2 separate regions of the Homo sapiens genome follow, and region 2 is linked to region 1. Evidence: promoter capture Hi-C in 16 types of primary human blood cells and fetal thymus (Javierre and others, 2016). All regions are on one chromosome and are shown on one strand. Each heading gives the region's core, a stretch centred on a gene start or on the middle of the fragment in contact. The rest is flanking DNA. Distances are from core to core; before and after follow the strand shown. Region 1 holds the start of MFSD2B (MFSD2 lysolipid transporter B, sphingolipid). Region 2 overlaps ATAD2B (ATPase family AAA domain containing 2B).

Region 1 (4,277 bases), core at 432-2,931:
TTTAATTGTTGAGTTGTGAAAGTTGATTCCAATACAAATCCCTTTTCTCCCATTCTGTGGGTTGTCTTTATACCCACTTGTTGGAATCGTTTACAGCACAAAGGTTTTCATTTTGAAAACTTTTGTAGTTCATCCAGCTTGTGCTTTTGGCGTCCTAAGAAACAATTGCCTGGCCCAATATGATGAAGAGTTGCTTCTGGGTTTTTTGTGTTTGGTTGGTTTTGTTTTTGTTTTTGTTTTTGAGACAGAGTCTCCCTCTGTCACCCAGGCTGGAATGCAGTGGCACGATCTTGGCTCACTGCAATCTCCGCCTCCCGGGTTCAAGCGATTCTCCTGCCTCAGCCTGCCGAGTAGCTGGGATTACAGGCATGAGCCACCGTGCCTGTCCCTTGCTCCTGTTTTTTCATAAGTTTTACATTCTAGGTCTATGATGCATTTTTAGTTAATGTGTACCCCTGTTACTGGTGGAAGGTATCTGAGTCACGTGGCACCAAAATATGTCAGCAGGAGTGAATCTATATGGGTCTGCAGCAACCTCAGTTCCTGCCTCCTCAGAAGAAAGAATTCCACTGAGGGGCATAAGGCAGAAGGAGAGACTGAGGCAAGTTTTAGAGCAGGAATAAAAGTTTATTAAAAAGCTCTACAGCAGAAATGGAAGGAAGGAAAGTACACTTGGAAGAGGGCCAAGCGGGTGACCTGAAAAAGAAGCGCACAGTTTGACCTTTTGACCTGGGGTCTTATGCATTGGCATACTTCTGGGGTCTTGCATCCCTTCTCCCCTGATTCTTCCCTTGGGAGGCCTGCCTGCATGGGCAGTGGTCTGCCAGCACTTGGGAGGGGAGTGTGCACACTGTGTATACTGGAGTTGTACCCATGCTCACTGGAGGCGTTCTTCCCTTACCAGTCCGGTGTCCTTCGAGGGTCACATGTCAGTTAAACTCCGCAATTTGTGTAAGCCCACTTGCCCAGCTCCTGAGATCTTACCGAGAAGCTGATCACCAGTTTCAGGTTTTCTCTATCTATTGGGAGACTGCCTTTCCCTGGCCCCGCTGGATCAATGATCATTTTAGAGGGAGCATAACAACCGCCTGACTGTCGCCTGATGGTTGCCTGACGTACCTGGTTGGAAGCGTGGCCCTCTCCTGCCCTTTTCGAGGCTGACTAGCTACCTGCTGTCACCCCCCTTCCCTTTTAAGGACTTTTCTGGAATGTTGGCCTGTGCCACCTGCTTTTATTCGCTGGCCAGAACTTAGTTACTGGCCATCCCCGTGGTCTGTATAGGAGACTCGACAATGTATATTTCAGGCGTTGGGCATCATGTGTAGCCGGCGGAATGCCTGTTCAGCCATGGTCCAGCCTGAACGAGCGGGCCTCTTGCTTCATTTTGCAGGGGAGCTGCTGCTTGCCCGCGGTCACCCCAGCGGTCTGGCGGAGCCCTTAGCGCGCAGGGCCGCCGTCTGCGGGCGCTCACGCCCCCGGGGATCCACCCCAAGGAGAACGGTCCTGAGGGCCTGCCGGGCCTTTCCCCCCGCGGATTTTGGTTCTTCGCTGTTTCCCTTTGGGGTGCCCTTCGCGGTTTCTGCGTTTCCCCCGCGTTGCCAGCAGCCACTCGCGCCGCGCCCCTAGCCCAGAACCGCCCCTCCCAAGGGCGATAACCCCGAGGGCAACGGCCGCGGGCGGCGCTGCGGTGGCAATGGCGGCGCCCCCTGCACCAGCCGCCAAGGGGTCCCCGCAGCCGGAGCCGCACGCCCCAGAGCCCGGCCCGGGGAGCGCCAAGCGAGGGCGAGAGGTGAGCGGGGCGGCGGGGACCGGGAAGGGGCTGCGTCCTCGGGGAGCTCCAGGGCGTCGCCTCGCAGCCCCTTTTCCAGCTGGGGGCAGCCCGGAGGGGCTCGGCCCAAACCTGCCAGCTCAGGGGCTGCCCTCGCGGGGTTACACGGCTGGGAGCGGGGAGGCTGGTAGGTGCCGGCGCCGGAAAGAGACTAGGACGGGAAGCCTAGCCCTAGCCAAGGAAGTAACTTGGGGATGCGTGGTCATTGCTGTCCTGATTCCCGGCTTAGGGGTCTTGTCCGTGCCACCGCAGGTCCTCCCGGGGTCCCCGAGCTCTGGGCAGGCAGGGCTTTCTGAAGCGCCTGGGGAGGCTGCGTCCTTCCCGACCTCAGGCAGCTGCTGTGGCCTCGGCCTCCCTCCCAGACCCTGGCCTCGCCCAGGCACCAGGCTCCCCTTGGAGGCAGCCTCAGGGAAGGTCCTGGCCATGGGCTCCGACAAGAAGGGAGGAGGGCAGGTGGGAGCGGCGGGGTCTTCGGGGCCCCTTGTCCCTTGCCCGATGCCGCCGGGCCGTGCTGGCCAGTGGGGCTGTGCTGGACGGAGCAAGGGGCCTGGGGCTTCCTGGGCCTCACTGAACGCGCCTGCTCCCTGCTCGTGCCCAGGGCATTCTGTGGCCTCCCCTGACCACCTCAGCCCCCAGCCTGTTCAGGGCTTCCTACGAGGCACCTGGGAGCACAGGATTGCATCCCACAAGAAAGTGAGGTGAGATGAAGGGGCTCTCCGGGGACTCTCACTTCCCAGGGAAACTTAGAAATTCAGGGTGAGATTAACAGCAAGAGGGAAACACTCGCATTGCTGATGAAGTTCCGGCGTGGAATCCTCTTACGACTCTCCGAGGGGTGGCAGCCCCGGTCACTCCAAGGAGACCGAGGTGCCCTGCCCTGGGTCACGCAGCTAGAGATAGCAGGGCTGCGCCCCTCGCCCGGAGCCGCCCCTCCCAAGGGGCTTCTCCTTGTACAGCTCACTGTACAGCTGTACCGGGCTTTTATGACTTTCGGTAAAACTGTCATCCTCAAGACGGCAAGATGGGATCATATCCCTGGCTTCACTTGGAAGTTCTTTCTAAAGTTCTAAAAACTTGCTAGGCCTGTTTTGGGGGATACAAGAGTCCCCATTAGGGGGAGAGGGGGACTGTCACGTTGAATTCTGCCTGTTCTTAAAGTTTTCTGGAAGCTGAAATGATGTTCACACAAATGTCAGAAAAGAATCATCCTGCCCCCAGTGTGGTTTTCCCCTGTGGGTAGGAAGAGTGTGCAAAGTGTGATAAACCCTTATCTGGGGAGACCTTCCCTTCACAAGAGCCTGCTGGGGTGTCCTGCAAGATGTGGAAATGGGTGAAGCCATGTCATCTCCACTCCCTCCAGCCCCCAGCAAACGATGAGAAAAGAGCCCAGCTTCTTCCAAAGAAACAGCACTTTACACAGGGTCTTCATGGCCATTTATTGCTTCAACGGATATATACTAAGCACCTACTGTATACCAAGCTTTGTTCTAGGTACTGGAAACACCATGATAAATAAAAGGTGGAGTTCATGCTCTCAGAGAGCTTACATTCCTGTAGGGAGAGGCAGGAACTAAATGAAAATATAGCAGGCGGTAAGTACAACTGAGAGAGGTGAGAGGTTAGGGAATGCCTCTTGGAGGAGGTGACATTTAAGCTGGTGACATCAAACCAGAATGACAAGGAGTCACCTTCCAGGCAGAGGAATGGGAAGGGCAAAGGCCCTGAGGCAGCAACAGACTTGATGATTTTGAGGAATAGGAAGGAGCCCGGCGTGGCTGAAGGAGAGCTATTTGAGGTGAGGTGGGTAGGGGGCCGACTGGGTGGACTCCTTAGCCATGATCAGGACTTGGAGTTTTATTCAAACTGCAATGGTATTGACTGAATACCATGGATCTGGAAACAAACAAACAAACAAACAAAACACACACACACACACACACACACACACAAAAACAGACAAAAAAACCCTGCAATAGCAAGCCATTGGAGAGTTTTAATCAGAGAGGAGATGGGATCTGATTATTTATTTATTTATTTATGACTGAGTCTCTGTCACCCAGGCTGGAGTGCAGTGGTGTGATATTTGCTCACTGCAACCTCTGCCTCCCTGGTTCAAGCAATTCTCTTGCCTCAGCCTCCTGAGTAGCTGGGATTACAGGCGGCCACTATGCCTGGCTAATTTTTGTGTTTCTAGTAGAGATGGGGTTTTGCCATGTTGGGCAGGCTGGTCTTCAACTCCTGGGCTCAAGCAATCCACCTACCTCGGCCTCCCAAAGTGCTGGGTTTATAGGGATGAGCCACTGTGCGATTTATGTTATTACAAGAGCACTGGCTGCTGGGTGGAGTGGATTGTAGGGAGCAAGGGCAGACACAGAAGCCACTTAGGAGGCATTCACTGATAGACAAGAACTGGAAAGAAGAATAGATGACTCCTAAGTTTGTGGCCTGA
Region 2 (4,745 bases), core at 1,670-4,169, 160 kb before region 1:
ACAAAAAAAATTAGCTGGGTGTGGTGGCATGCCTCTGTAGTCCCAGCTACTCAGGAGGCTGAGGCAGGAGAATGGCCTGAACCCGAGAGGCGGAGCTTGCAGTGAGCTGAGATCGCGCCACTGCTGGAGTGGGCAACAGAGCAAGACTCCGTCTCAAAAAAAAAAAAAAAAAAAATGACTTTAAGAGTTATGATCTCTAGATCACAATAAAACTAAATTAGAAGTAAATAACAATAAAATAATCAGGAAAAATAACCACAGCTATTTGTAAATTAAATACACATCTAAATTAAATACACAATGACTGTGTCAAAGAAAAAATGACAAGAGGAATTGGAAATTATTTTGAACTGAATGACAGTGAATACATGTCAAAAACTGTGGGATGTAGCTAAAGCATTGCTTAGAGGGAAATTTACAGGTGTCAATGCCTATATTAGAAAAAAAGAAAAGTTTCAATCAATTTCTAAGCTTCCATCTTAATCTGAAAAAGGGAGTTAAATTAAAAACAAACAGAAAAGACTTGGGAGACCTGAAATACATACTGCTATATAAAAGAAGCCAATCTGAAAAAACTACATACTGTTTGAGTCCAACTATATGACATTCTGGAAAAGGCAAAATTATGGAGATAGTAAAAAGATCAGTGGTTGCTGGGGAGATAGGGAGGGCTCTGCAGGGCAGAAGAGAAGGGGGGATGAATGAATAGACGATTTGGGGGAAGTGAAAATATTCTGTATGATACTGTAAGAGCAGATACGTGTCATTACACATTTGTTGAAACCCTAAAACTGCCTGCTATGAATGGAATGTTTCTATTCCCCTAAAATTCACACATTGAAACCTAATCACCAATGTAATGTTGTTAAGAGGTATTAAGAGTTAAGAGCTAAGGTGTTAAGAGTGTTAAGAGGTGGAACCTTTGGGAGGTAATTAGGACACAAGGGCAAAACCCTCATAAAGAGGATTCCTGCCTTCATAAAAGAGACCTGAAAAAGCTAGCTGGTCTTTTCTACCATTTAAGGACACAAGAGAAGTCATCAGAACCAGAAAGCAGGTCCTCACCAGACACTAAATCTGCTGGCACCCTGATCTTGGACATCCCAGCCTCCAGAAATATGACAAATAATGTTCTGCTATTTCTAAGCTACCCAGTTTTATAGAGATTTTTTGTTTTCTGAGACAGGGCCTCACTCTCTCACCTAGGCTGTAGTTCGGTGGCACGATTGTGGCTCACTGCAGCCTTGACCTCCCCAGGCTCAAGTGATCCTCTCACGTCAGCCTCCCAAGTAGCTAGGACGAGAGGCACACCACACCCAACTAATTTTTGTACTTTTAGTAGAGACACGGTTTTGCCACATTGCCCAGGCTGGTCTCAAACTGCTGAGCTCAAGAGATCCACTGTCCTTGGCCTCCCAAAGTGCTGGGACTACAAGTGTGAGCCACTGTGCCCAGTCATGAATAGTCTATTTTTAAGACCATTTGTTAGGGCAGTTTTAGGTTAACAGCCAAATTGAGAAGGAAATACAGAGACTTTCATACGTCCCCCGCCTGCCCCTTCATATGTATACCCATGCCCCAACAGAGTGGTGCACTTATTTCAACTGATGAACCTACAATGACACATCACAATCTACAAAGTCCACAGTTTACATTAAGGTTCACGCTTGATGATATACATTCTATGGGTTTGGACAAACATATCATGATGTGGATCCACTCTTACAGTATAACACAGACTATTTTCACTGCCCTAAAAAATCTTTTATACTCTGCCTACAAATCCCCCTCAGTCTACTAATTTTTAAAAATATAAGAAAAAAGGTAGTATAAAATTGGAAACAAAAATAATAGTAGAAAATCTATGAAAACAGAAGTTGCCTCTTTGGGGGAGAAAGGACCAATAAAATTGATAATCCTCTAGCCGGAGTAATCAAGAAAAAAAAAAAGAGAAAACACAGGTTATCACCATCGGAAATGAAAAGAATACTACCGCAGACTATTTAGGCATTAAGGAGATAACAGAATAGTAGGAAAAAATGTATGTAAATTTCTTGACTTAGGTGAAATGAACAAATTCCTTTAAAGATAAACTACCAAACTAACAAAACTGACCTAAGAATAAATAGAAAACTTGAACAGCCCTGTATCAACTGAAGAAATTTAACTTGTAATCAAAAACCTTTCCATAAACAAAACTCCAGGCCCAGGTATTTTCACTGGTGAATTCTCTCAAACACTTAAGAAATGAATAACATCAAACTTACACAAACACTTTCAGAAAATAGAGAAAGAGGGAATGCCATCTCATCTTTTTTTTTTTAAGAGACAGGGTCTCACTATGTTGCCCAGGCTGCTCTTGCACTCCTAGACTCAAGAGATCCTGCTGCCTCAGCCTCTCAAAGTGTTGAGATTACAGGCATGCACCATCACACCCAGTGTATATCTCATCTAATACACATCAAAATTACCTGATTCCAAAACCAGATGCAGATATTTTAAGAGTAATTACAGATCAAAATCTCATTAATACAGATAATAAAACTTTTTATATTAGCAAGTGGAATCCAATAATTTTTTAAGAAAGACAATATATTATGAGCAAGTGAGGTTTATTCTAAGAATGCAAAGTTAGTTTACTATCTAAAATTCAGGCCAGGCGCAGTGGCTCACACTTGTAATCCCAGCACTTCGGGAGGCCGAGGCAGGTGGATCACCTGAGGTCAGGCGTTCAAGACAAGCCTGACCAACATGGTGAAACCCTGTCTCTACTAAAAACACAAAAATTAGCCAGGCACGGTGGCAGACACCTGTAATGCCAGGTACTCGGGAGGCTGAGGCAAGAGAATCACTTGAACCCAGGAGGTGGAGGTTGCAGTGAGCCGAGATCACGCCATTGCACTCCAGCATGGGCGACAGAGCGAGACTCCATCTCCAAAAAAAAAAAAAAATCTAAAATTCAATCAAAATAATGCTCTACCTTAATAGAATACAGGAGAAAAGCCATATGATCAATTCAAAAGAGACAGAAAAAAAAATATGTTACAAAGTTCAGTACTCTATCCCAGTAAAATAAACTCTCACAGCAAACTAGGAATATAGTGGAAATCCCTCAATGTAATAAAGGGCACCTATGAAAAACTTAGTTAAAATCACATTCAATGGTTAAAGTCTCAATGTTTTACAGCCAATGAAGGAAACAGGCAGTGATTTCCATTATCACCATTACTATTTAACTGAATTCTAGCCAAAGAAATAAGAAAAAGAAATAAAAGACATAGATTGGAAAGGAAGAAGTAGAAGTACCTTTATTTGCAGATAAGGTATATGTATAAAACCGTAAGGAAACCACAAAATAGCTAATAGAACTAACAAATGAATTTAGCAAGGTTGTGGATACAAAGTCTATAAACTCAGTTGTATTTTTATAAACCAGCAGTAAGCAATTAGAAAATAAATTTTCTTTCAAAACTCCATTCACATTAAATGAACAATAAAGTATTTAGGGATGCATTAAACAAAAGATGCCTAAGATCCTTATGCTAAAACCATAAGACACAGGAAAAGGAAATTAAAGAATACCTAAATAAATGAACAGAATTACCATGTTCATAGACTGAAAGACGAATAAGGATGCAATTCTTCCCAAATAGATCGAAGGATTAATTGCAATCCCAAATAAATCCCAACAGTCTTTTCTAAAGAAACTGACAAGAGGCTTTAGAAATGTAAATGGAAAGATAATAGATGACTACAACAATTCTGAAAAAGAACAAATTTGGAGGACTTATACTAAAATGAACATTAATCAAGACAGTGGTATAAGGATAGACCTGTAGATCAATGGAATCAACTAACAAATCTAGAAATAGACACACATTTATATGGTCAATTTTTGTCAAAGACGTGCCAAGAAATTTAACAAAGTAAACTCTTCAATATATGGTTCTGGAACAAATGAGTATCTGTATAAAAAAATAGGCTGGGCATGGTGGCTCATGCCTGTAATACCAGCACTTTGGGAGGCCGAAGCAGGAGAATCACCTGAGGTCAGAAGTTCGAGACCAGCCTGGCCAACATGGTGAAACATACCTCTACTAATAATACAAAAATTCGCCAGGCATGGTAGCACACACCTGTAATCCCAGCTACTCAGGAGGCTGAGGCACAAGAATCACTTGAACCTGGGAGGTGGAGGCTACAGTGAGCTGAGATCGCGCGACTGCACTCCAGCCTGGGCAACAGAGTGACACTCCGTCTCAAAGAAAAAAAAAGAATACCTGTATTAAAAAAATAAACTTCAGTCCATACCTTAAACTATCTACAAAAATTAACTTAAACCCTCACCTCTTACTGATACACAAACATTAACGTAAAATGAATCATTGACTTAAATATTAAGAGCTAACACTGGCTGGGAACAGTGGCTCATGCCTGTAAGCCCAACACTTTGGGAGGCCGAGGTGGGTGGATCACCTGAGGTCAGGAGTTCTAGACCAGCCTGGCCAATATGGTGAAACCCCACCTCTACTAAAAATACAAAAATTAGCCAGGCGTGGTGGCAGGCACCTGTAATCCCAGCTACTCGGGGGGCCAAGGCAGGAGAATCGCTTGAACCTGGCAGGCGGCGGTTGCAGTGAGCCAAGATCGTGCCATTGCACTCCAGCCTGGGGCACAAGATCGAGACTTCGTCTCAAAAAAAAAAAAAAAAGCTAACGCTATTAATATTTTCAAAGAAAACATCC

The links. Contacts are between HindIII fragments. The CHiCAGO score rates a contact against its expected background, and 5 or more counts as called.
Region 2: a contact is called between a fragment that was not itself captured here and the fragment with the promoter of MFSD2B in region 1, in 2 of 17 cell types (naive B cells and total B cells). The highest score is 6.5, in naive B cells.

What each region holds. Positions count from the first base shown.
Region 1 is chr2:24,008,404-24,012,680 of GRCh38, forward strand. MFSD2B (MFSD2 lysolipid transporter B, sphingolipid) reads left to right here and starts at 1,682. Exons shown (of 14, transcript NM_001346880.2): 1 at 1,682-1,789. The coding sequence starts at 1,694. The HindIII fragment of the contact is 4,987 bases long and covers 1-3,306 here.
Region 2 is chr2:23,849,984-23,854,728 of GRCh38, forward strand. The region is part of intron 13 of ATAD2B (ATPase family AAA domain containing 2B); the gene reads right to left. Among named protein-coding and RNA genes, the nearest start is that of ATAD2B, 75 kb to the right of the region's middle. RefSeq lists an enhancer at 1,015-1,064. The HindIII fragment of the contact is 4,900 bases long and covers 470-4,745 here.